Regions from separate parts of the Homo sapiens genome. Here region 2 is linked to region 1. The links are contacts of gene promoters, found by promoter capture Hi-C in blood cells and fetal thymus (Javierre and others, 2016). All regions are on one chromosome and are shown on one strand. Each heading gives the region's core, a stretch centred on a gene start or on the middle of the fragment in contact. The rest is flanking DNA. Distances are from core to core; before and after follow the strand shown.

Region 1 (4,767 bases), core at 447-2,946:
TGTATATGTGCCACATTTTCTTAATCCAGTCTATCATTGATGGACATTTGGGTTGGTTCCAAGTCTTTGCTATCGTGAATAGTGCCGCAATAAACATACGTGTGCATGTGAATTGGACATAATTCTTGCCTGACTTTGACCCACTCTAACTCAGTGCAATTTAATTATCTATATTTCACATAGCTATGCCTGATCACACACACAGGTTCATTCCCTCAAGAATTCTGATCACCAAATTTGCTATTCCAGTCACATTACCGGTAAGAGATCAATGTATTTGATATATGGTCTTGCAAGACCAAGTTTTATTAATTTTTTTCCCTCTGAAGGAGTGGTGAAATTATACTCTATCTTCTCTGTGCTGGAAGTTCACAAGTTTTTGATTATTCAAAAATCATAAAAGGCCAAGAGGTCTTGAAGTAAGTAAAAATAAGTTCAGGTTTACCAACAAACTCTACAGCCTTAAGTTACTTTCTGCCGGCCAAGGTTTTCTCATCAGAAAATGAGGACAAGTGTTTGACCTAGAATTTGGGAAATCTGACTAGTGCTGTACTGTGCTAAAATTCACTCTTCTTATGTATAACGTTGTTTTATTATTTTATTAGTTGATGGCCTCTCAACCGTACCCAGTAATAAGAGAAACTTTACCCTCTAATTAGAAAATAATGGATATCTACTTTTGGCCTGCTGTGGCAGAGGAAAAGGCAGTTACCCTAGGACTGGTTTTGAAATAATCTTTCTAAAAACAAAGAAAAAACTACGTTAATTTTGGATTCTTCCCGATAACACATATATTTGATCCAATAGAAAAATGATGTCTAAATTACTTGTCAGATAAATTGATTATCTTTTCCAGATTATTACATTACTATTTAAGGAAGAAATAACTTGGCCATAGTATTTTCACTGTCACACACGATCACACACAGCTCATTTGCTCTTGGCACCCTTACAGACACTGAAATACAAGCACAAAGAAAGCACGTTTATATAACACAGATCACCAGTTACTCAATTACGGCCACACACAAAAAAGCAGATATACATACAGATACCCTTCATAAGCAAACCACAATAGAGATCTGTGTAAAATCGTCTTACTCTGTTAGACGATTCTACACAGTTATAAAATCCCATTACTACGCAGCTTAAAGTACAAATCACCTCACACCCCACAGCAGGAAGAATCACACACAGGCAGAAACACAACCATACACACCCGGCCACGGAAAGACTCTCAGTCCACCTGGCATCTCCCATTGTCACACACACCCCAAGGGCCTGGGAGGGCACACACAGGGTCCTCTGCAAATCCGAGGTTCCGGCGGGTCCCCGCACCGGCCCCAGCTCCTCCCCCGCACCTGCCTGGCCGGCGGGTCCCACCCTCTCTCCTGCCAGGGGTAGACCCTGGGACCACTCAGCTCGCTCTCGCAGGCCCTGAGCGTCTGACGCCTGCGCACTGAGCGCGGGCGGGCGGGCACTCCCAGAAACCTCCGGGGCGCTGCAGGCGGGACAAGCAGGTTCCACAGGCCGAGCCCACGAGCCCCTCGAGGGGTGAGCGGCCCGGGCCTCCTGGCGTTCTGGCCGGCTAGCCAAGCGCTGGACTACATTTCCCAGAGGCACGGCGTCCGGAGCGCTGGACTACATTTCCCAGAGGCACCGCTCCCGGAGCGTAGCTTCATTTCCGTTAGTTTGCGAGATTTGGAGGCCTCGCGTGGGGAGAGGGCCGCGTCTGTGGAGGAGCTTGGCTCCGCACCTGCTGGGCTGGCGAACCCGAAATTGGGCTTGGAACCCGGGAGCCAGATCTTGGACCCTGAACTGCACCTCTGTCAAGGTAGGAGTGTCCGGGATGCCGGAGCGGACACGCGCGGAGAAAGCGTCGCTGGGGTTACTCGTGTGGCCGTGTCTCCGGTTTTGTGTGCAGGCTACAGCCTGCCTGGTATTGGCGACTGCCTGTGCATACACGACTGGACGTGTGTGGCTGTGGTTTTGTGTATGAGCATTTGTATGAGTGTGAGTTGTGACTCTGAGGGTGTTTGTGACTGTTTGCTTACCTGGCTGGGATATACTTATGTGACTGTGATTTTATGTGTGCCGCGTGTATAATTGGGGTTTGCCTGTGACTATGAAGTGTGTGACAGTTGTGACAAGAGTGTTTGGATGTTCTTGTGTCACTTTGAGGTTGTGTGTAAACCTGATATCGTGGGATGGATTTGCCAGTAAATTTAAGGTGTGTGACAGTGTTGCTGTGACACGGTGTTTATTACCGCGTGTTTCCCTGATTTCGTACTGGGTTGGGTGACTGTCTGATTGTGTGTGACTGTGGGGTTGTGTGTGCTGTTTTCATGACTGTGTAAAGAGACTAAAATTGCAGCTTTGAAAGGGTGTTTTTGGCGGTATGTGTCTCTGACAAGGTGCTTGGATGTAATTATATGCCTTGTACTTAATGGGATTTTGTTTGAGACAAGGTGGTCTAACAATGTAGCATAATTGGGTGATTGTGCCTCTAGCTGTGTAACTGTGGAAATGTGATTATGTGTGACTTTATGTGGCCATTTGTATATTCTGTGACCTTATGGGGGTTTAGTCCAGTACAGAAGTAAATTTCTTTTTGGTATTTCTGGGGTTCATTTGGGGCTGAGGTCTGCCTATGGATTGTGAGTCCCATGTGGCTCTGTGCTCCTCCCATGTGGCTCTGAGGACTTAAGGACTTTTTGATTTGACCACAGTGGCTGCCCTTTCATCCATGGCCTGTATTGCTTCATTTCTGTATCCATCCTCGGTTCACCTTGGGAAATGTAGTTACTTACGAGTTCACGACTTCTTCCCTGCGTCCTCTTGCCTTATAGCCTTAAGGGGATTGGGTGCAGGGAAGTGGCAAGAAGTAAGGAAGTCAGACATTTGGACACCTGAGTGATGAATAGGAGTTATTTGCAAGTTACAGACCTGGTCTTAGGATGAGAATTTTAGGGCTGATAATACCTTCAAGACAGCCACTGGATGCTGTGCGCGGTGGCTCACATCTGTAATCCCAGCGCTTTGGGAGGCAGAGGCGGGTGGATTACCTGAGGTCATGGTTTCACCATGACCTCTACTAAAAATACAAAATTAGCTGGGCGTGGTGGCGCATGCCTGTAATCCCAGCTACTTAGGAGGCTGAGGCAGGAGAATTGCTTGAACCCGGGAGGCGGAGGTTGCAGTGAGCCAAGATCAAGCCACTGCACTCCAGCCTGGGCAACAAGAGTGAAACTCATTCTCTAAATAAATAAATAAATAGGCCACTGGAAATATAATGGGACTCCAGGAGTGGGAATAGTTTCAGAGGGAGTGCTTTAGGAGACAGCCACCCAGTTCTGAACCTGAAGCACCCCACTGCAGGACTGTCTCCAGTGTACAGCTTTGAATACAGAAATAAATTCAAGCCCAAGACAGCTGTGACCTGGCCCTTCTTTCTGATACAGAAGGTAGAAGACTTATTCTAGTCTCCTCCTGACTTTTCTTTATGTTAAATGAGATTAAGAGGATGGAGGAAGAGGGTATGTTATAATTTAGCATATTCCCCAAGAAAGGCCTAATATCTCATTCCATTTTTCTTTTTCTGAGAGTAGAGCCCAGAGGAGAAAGAATGGCTGTTTCAGTAGCAATGTCCAAGGTGAGTATTTCCTCTTTGTTTCCTGAAATACCTTTGTTATTACAGGACATAGACATTTTTGTTTTCTTTTTGAAATTTCTTGCCTTCTCAAATGATAGAGGGGCAAGGCAATTTTTGGTAGATTGAGAGCAAAGAAAATGTGCCATTAATCGGGATAGATGCTTCCCCAATAGTGGTTAAATTTACGAAGAATGGATTTGAGACTCATGGATTTAAAAAGGGGAAGAGAGAAATAGCTCTATTGTGTTATTTAAAAAGGGAAAGAGCTCTATTGTGTTATTTCTGATACAGCACCATTTTGATTTTTTAACTTTTTTTAGCTTGTTATGGAAAGTTTCAAATGTACACAAAAGTATAATGAATATGCCTAGCTTAAAAACGATCACGGCCAGGTGTGGTGGCTCATGCCTATAATCCCAGCACTTTGGGAGGCCGAGGCGGATGGAACGAGGTTAGGAGATCGAAACCATCCTGGAAAAAGGTGAAACCCCGTCTGTACTAAAAATTAAAAAAAAAAAATTAGTTGGGCGTGGTGGTGGATGCACATAGTCCCAGCTACTCGGGAGACTGAGGCAGGAGAATGGCGTGAACCTGGGAGGCAGAGCTTGCAGTGAGCCGAGATTGCGCCACTGCACTCCAGCCTGGGCAACAGAGCGAGACTCTGTCTCAAAAAAAAAAAAAAAAAAGCGATTACTTTCCAATCTTGTTTCATTTATTCTACCTTCAGTTCAAAATCCTTTCTAATTTGCCCCTTTGATTTCTTGACTTATAGGTTATTTTGATGTGTCATGTTTTCAAATATTTTGAGGATCTTCCAGAGATCTTTTGTTACTGATTTCTAATTTCATTACATTGTGTTCACAGAATATACTTCATATGATTTTAATCCTTTTAAATTTATTAAGATTTGTTTTATGACCCAGAATTTGATGCATCTTAGTAAATGTTCCATGTGCACTTGAAAAGACTATATTCTGTGGTTGTTGGGTGGAGTGTTCTATAAATGTCAACTAGGTCAGGTAGGTTGATAGTATTTTTTAAATCTTCCATATCTTTACTGAGTTTTTATTTGTTGGATTTTTCTCCTTGTAGTTTCTTTCAGTTTCTGCTTCATG
Region 2 (4,566 bases), core at 1,977-4,476, about 20 Mb after region 1:
ATGTCCATGACTGTGACTCACATGGATCAGGTAAAAATCCAGTTATTCAGGAAGAGGAAAATATCTTTAAATGCAATGAATGTGAAAAAGTGTTTAACAAGAAACGCCTGCTTGCTCGGCATGAGAGGATTCACTCTGGAGTGAAGCCCTATGAATGCACAGAGTGTGGAAAAACCTTTAGCAAGAGTACATACCTCCTGCAGCACCACATGGTCCACACTGGGGAGAAGCCCTATAAGTGCATGGAGTGTGGGAAGGCTTTTAATCGGAAGTCACACCTTACCCAGCACCAGCGGATTCACAGTGGAGAGAAGCCTTATAAGTGCAGTGAATGTGGAAAGGCCTTCACCCACCGCTCCACTTTTGTCTTGCATAACAGGAGCCACACTGGAGAAAAACCCTTTGTGTGCAAAGAGTGTGGCAAAGCCTTTCGAGATAGGCCAGGTTTCATTCGACACTACATCATCCACAGTGGTGAGAATCCCTACGAGTGCTTCGAATGTGGCAAGGTCTTCAAACACAGATCATACCTCATGTGGCACCAGCAGACTCATACCGGGGAGAAGCCCTATGAGTGCAGTGAATGTGGGAAGGCCTTCTGTGAGAGCGCAGCGCTGATTCACCACTATGTCATCCACACTGGAGAGAAGCCCTTTGAGTGCCTCGAGTGTGGGAAGGCTTTCAACCACCGATCCTACCTCAAAAGGCACCAGCGGATTCACACTGGGGAGAAGCCATATGTGTGTAGTGAATGCGGAAAGGCCTTCACCCACTGCTCTACTTTCATCTTGCATAAAAGGGCCCACACTGGAGAAAAACCTTTCGAGTGCAAAGAGTGTGGGAAAGCCTTTAGCAATAGGGCAGACCTCATTCGCCACTTCAGCATCCACACTGGAGAGAAGCCCTATGAGTGCATGGAGTGTGGAAAGGCCTTCAACCGCAGGTCAGGCCTCACAAGGCACCAGCGGATTCATAGTGGAGAGAAGCCCTATGAATGCATCGAGTGTGGGAAAACATTTTGCTGGAGCACAAACCTCATTCGACACTCTATCATCCACACTGGAGAGAAGCCGTATGAGTGCAGTGAATGTGGAAAGGCCTTCAGTCGCAGCTCGTCCCTCACTCAGCATCAAAGGATGCATACTGGGAGAAATCCTATCAGTGTAACAGATGTGGGAAGACCTTTTACAAGTGGGCAGACCTCAGTCAACATCCAAGAACTTTTATTGGGGAAAAACTTTTTGAATGTCACCACTGAGGAAAATCTTTTGCAAGAGGAAGCATCTTACATGGCATCTGATCGTACATACCAAAGAGAAACCCCACAAGTGTCTTCACTGTGAGAAAACCTTCTGTTGCCAAATGTCATTTGTCACCTAAGGAGTCATATTAGAAAATCACGCAGCTTAGAGCCTTATTCTCCATCCGAATTCATCCTGGAAAAACACCCAGTGGTTATTACGCACTTGGGAAAACCTTTAGCTCCATCTTTCTCATTAGTTTACAGTGCAATGTTATCTCAGGAATTTTTATAAACAGAAAGAGGTGACATAGAAAAGAAAATGAAATGCAGACACTGCTTTTATACTGTTGTCTTGTATGTACATTTCTGTCCTGTGTCAGGAAAGTTAGTAAGGGAAGGTCTGGAAACTTACTCAATGTCTTTGTTCTACAACATTGTCTCTTCTTAAGAAGCATTGTTTTTATGAGAAATAATGAAGCCTTGAGTTATGAAATACTTTTATATTTAAGGATTAAAAGAAACATGAATGCGCACATTTTATTGTACCACTTAATACTGTTTAGGTCTTTGATTTTTTAAAAAAATTCTTTTTTAATGGGTTTTAAACACTAACACTGAGAATTTTTCTTGATTCCCATCTGTTGGTTTACTTGATTGCTATAGCTGTATGGTAAATCTCAAAATTAGGTAATGTGATTTCTTTTTTCTTACTATTTTTATTTAAAATTCATTTAGCATTCCTAGTTTGACTTTCCATATACACTTTAGGATTGGTTTTTCTGTTTTTCAAATATTCTTGCTTGGATTTTGATAGAAATTGAGTTAAATCTATAGATCAATGTGTTGGAAATTGGCATCTTAGTCTTCCAATTCATGAACATAGCCTATCTTTTCATTATTTAAATTTTCTTTGATATATTTCATTACTGTTTTATAGTTTACACAGTATAACTCCTGCACATTTAAAATAAGAATTATAGCTGCATAGTTTTTTGAGTGATTGTAAATGGCATTGATATTTAAAGTTTCAATATTCACATGATGTTGGCTAGTATACAGAAACATTATTTTTTCAATCTTATTTTGCTGTCTTGCAACCTTCCTAAACTCATTATTTCTTGCCATTTCTTTTGGGAGAATCCTTAGGATTTTAAATATAGAAATGTCATTTGCAATTTGGGACAGTTTTATTTCTTGCTTCCCATCTGTATACCTTTTATTTGCTTTTCTCATGTTATTGTACTAGGTAGGATTTCCAGTGTGATGTTGAATACGAATAGTGACAAGTTATCCATGCCTTGTTCCTGATATTAGGGGGAAATGTTCAGTTTCTCATTATTATGATGTTGAAAGTTGCTTCCAAAGAGTTTCTCTATCGAGTTTAGAAAGTTTCCCTCTATTCCTAATTTGCTGGGATTTTTTTGGTTATTATTAATAAGTGTTGAATTTTGTCATATGCTTTTTCTCCACCAATTGATTTAATTATGTGATGTTACTTCTATAGTCAGTTGATATGATGTGTTACCTTGATTGAGTTTCAAGTATTGAACCAGCCTCACATCTTTGTGATAAGCCCTACTTGATCATGGAGTATAATTTTGTTTGTGTACTATGCTACAGTATTTCATTTGCTAGTATTTTGTTGAGGAAGCTTTCCTCTGATTTCATGAGTGATAATCTGTAGTTTTCTTTCTTCAACTGTTACTGTTTGGTTTTGATGTCTAGATGATAACTAACCTCCTAACATGAATTGGAAGGAATTCTCTTCTGTTTTTTTGGAAGATCATGTGTAGAATTGGTGTTATTTGTTCCTTTAATGTTTGGTAGCTTTCTCCAGTGAAGAAGTGGGACCTGGAGATTTTCCTTTTGAATGCTTTTTAATTATGTATTTATTTTATTTAATAGGTATAGAACTATTCAGAGTATTTCATATTGGATGAATTTTTATAGATTTTCTTAAGGAAGTGTTCATTTTATGTAAATGTTCTAATTTGTAGCATTCTTTGAAATATTTCCTTTTATCCTCTTGATGGCAGCAGGATCTGTACTTATGTTCCTTGTTGTATTCTTGATATTGGAAATGTATCACTTATTATTGTCAGTCTTTGTAGACATATGTCAATTTCATTGATCATTTCAAAGAAATAGCACTTTATATCACTGATTTTTCTCCAGTCTCTGTTCTTAATTTCACTGATATCTGCTCTGATGTGTATTGTATCCTTTCTCCTACTTGCTCTGGTTGTATTTGACTCAGTGGTTTCCTGACGTGGATGTTTAGGTTATTGATTTGAGGCTTTTTTTCTTTTTTAATATAAGCTTTAAGTTCTATACATTTTTCTTACACTGCTGTTAGTTTCATCCCACAAGTCTTAATATGCTTTTGATTATCTTACTCAGTTCTAAGATTGCCTGATTCCTTTTGAGACATCTTCTCTAACCCAGGAATTATTTAGAAGTATATTGTTTAATAGTGTTTGGAGTATTCCCTGCTATTTGTTATTGATTTCTAATTTGTTTTGCATTTGATGTTACTGTTGAAATTTGTTGACTTTTTTTCCTTATGACCCAGGATATAGGCTGTCTTGTTTTACATAGCTGCTTGAAAAGAATGTGTGTTCTCGGTCATTTGGTGGAGTTTCTGTAAAAGTTTGTATGATCCTGTTAGTTGGTGGTGTTATTTAGGTCTCCTGTATCCTTGCTGATTTTCTGTCTAGTATTTCTATCAATTGCCAAGAGAAGGATGTTGAAGTCCTGAGCTATAATTGTGGAATTACCTATTCCTCCTTTAAGTTCTATCAGTTTTTGCTCCACATAATTTAAAGCTCTGTTGTTTGGTATATACACATGTAGGTTTGCTTAGTATTCTTGGTGTATTGACCCTTTTATAATTAAGTAATGTCCCTTTTTGTTCCTGTTAATACTCTTATCAATTTTTATCTGATATTTGTGTGGTCAGTCTTACGTTTTGGTTAATGCTTGCATGATTTACACTTCATCATTTTTTTAAACCTTATCTATATCACTATATTGGGAGTAAGTTTCTTGTGAATGGCGTATATTTGGGCTGTGGTTTTATATCCAGTTTGCGTATCTTTTTTTTTTTTTTTTTTTTTTTTTGAGACGGAGTTTTGTTCTTGTTGCCCAGGCTGGAGTGGAGTGGTGCGATCTCCGCTCACTGCAACCTCCGCCTCCTGGGTTCAAGTGATTCTCCTGCCTCAGGCTCTTGAGTAGCTGGGATTACAGGCATCCGCCACCATGCCTGACTGATTTTTTGTATTTTTAGTAGAGATGGAGTTTCACCATGTTGGCCAGGCTGGTCT

The links. Contacts are between HindIII fragments. The CHiCAGO score rates a contact against its expected background, and 5 or more counts as called.
Region 2: a contact is called between a fragment that was not itself captured here and the fragment with the promoter of ZNF420 in region 1, in 1 of 17 cell types (total CD4 T cells). The highest score is 6.0, in total CD4 T cells.

What each region holds. Positions count from the first base shown.
Region 1 is chr19:37,076,737-37,081,503 of GRCh38, forward strand. It overlaps ZNF420 (zinc finger protein 420), which reads left to right and starts at 1,697. Exons shown (of 5, transcript NM_144689.5): 1 at 1,697-1,834; 2 at 3,609-3,652. LOC105372390 (a long non-coding RNA gene) reads right to left here and starts at 1,461. Exons shown (of 2, transcript XR_001754095.2): 1 at 1,362-1,461. RefSeq lists a silencer at 1,153-1,442 and an enhancer at 1,533-1,772. The HindIII fragment of the contact is 14,557 bases long and covers 1-4,767 here.
Region 2 is chr19:57,253,361-57,257,926 of GRCh38, forward strand. It overlaps ZNF805 (zinc finger protein 805), which reads left to right. Exons shown (of 4, transcript NM_001023563.4): 4 at 1-4,566. The coding sequence ends at 1,343. Among named protein-coding and RNA genes, the nearest start is that of ZNF805, 15 kb to the left of the region's middle. The HindIII fragment of the contact is 668 bases long and covers 2,893-3,560 here.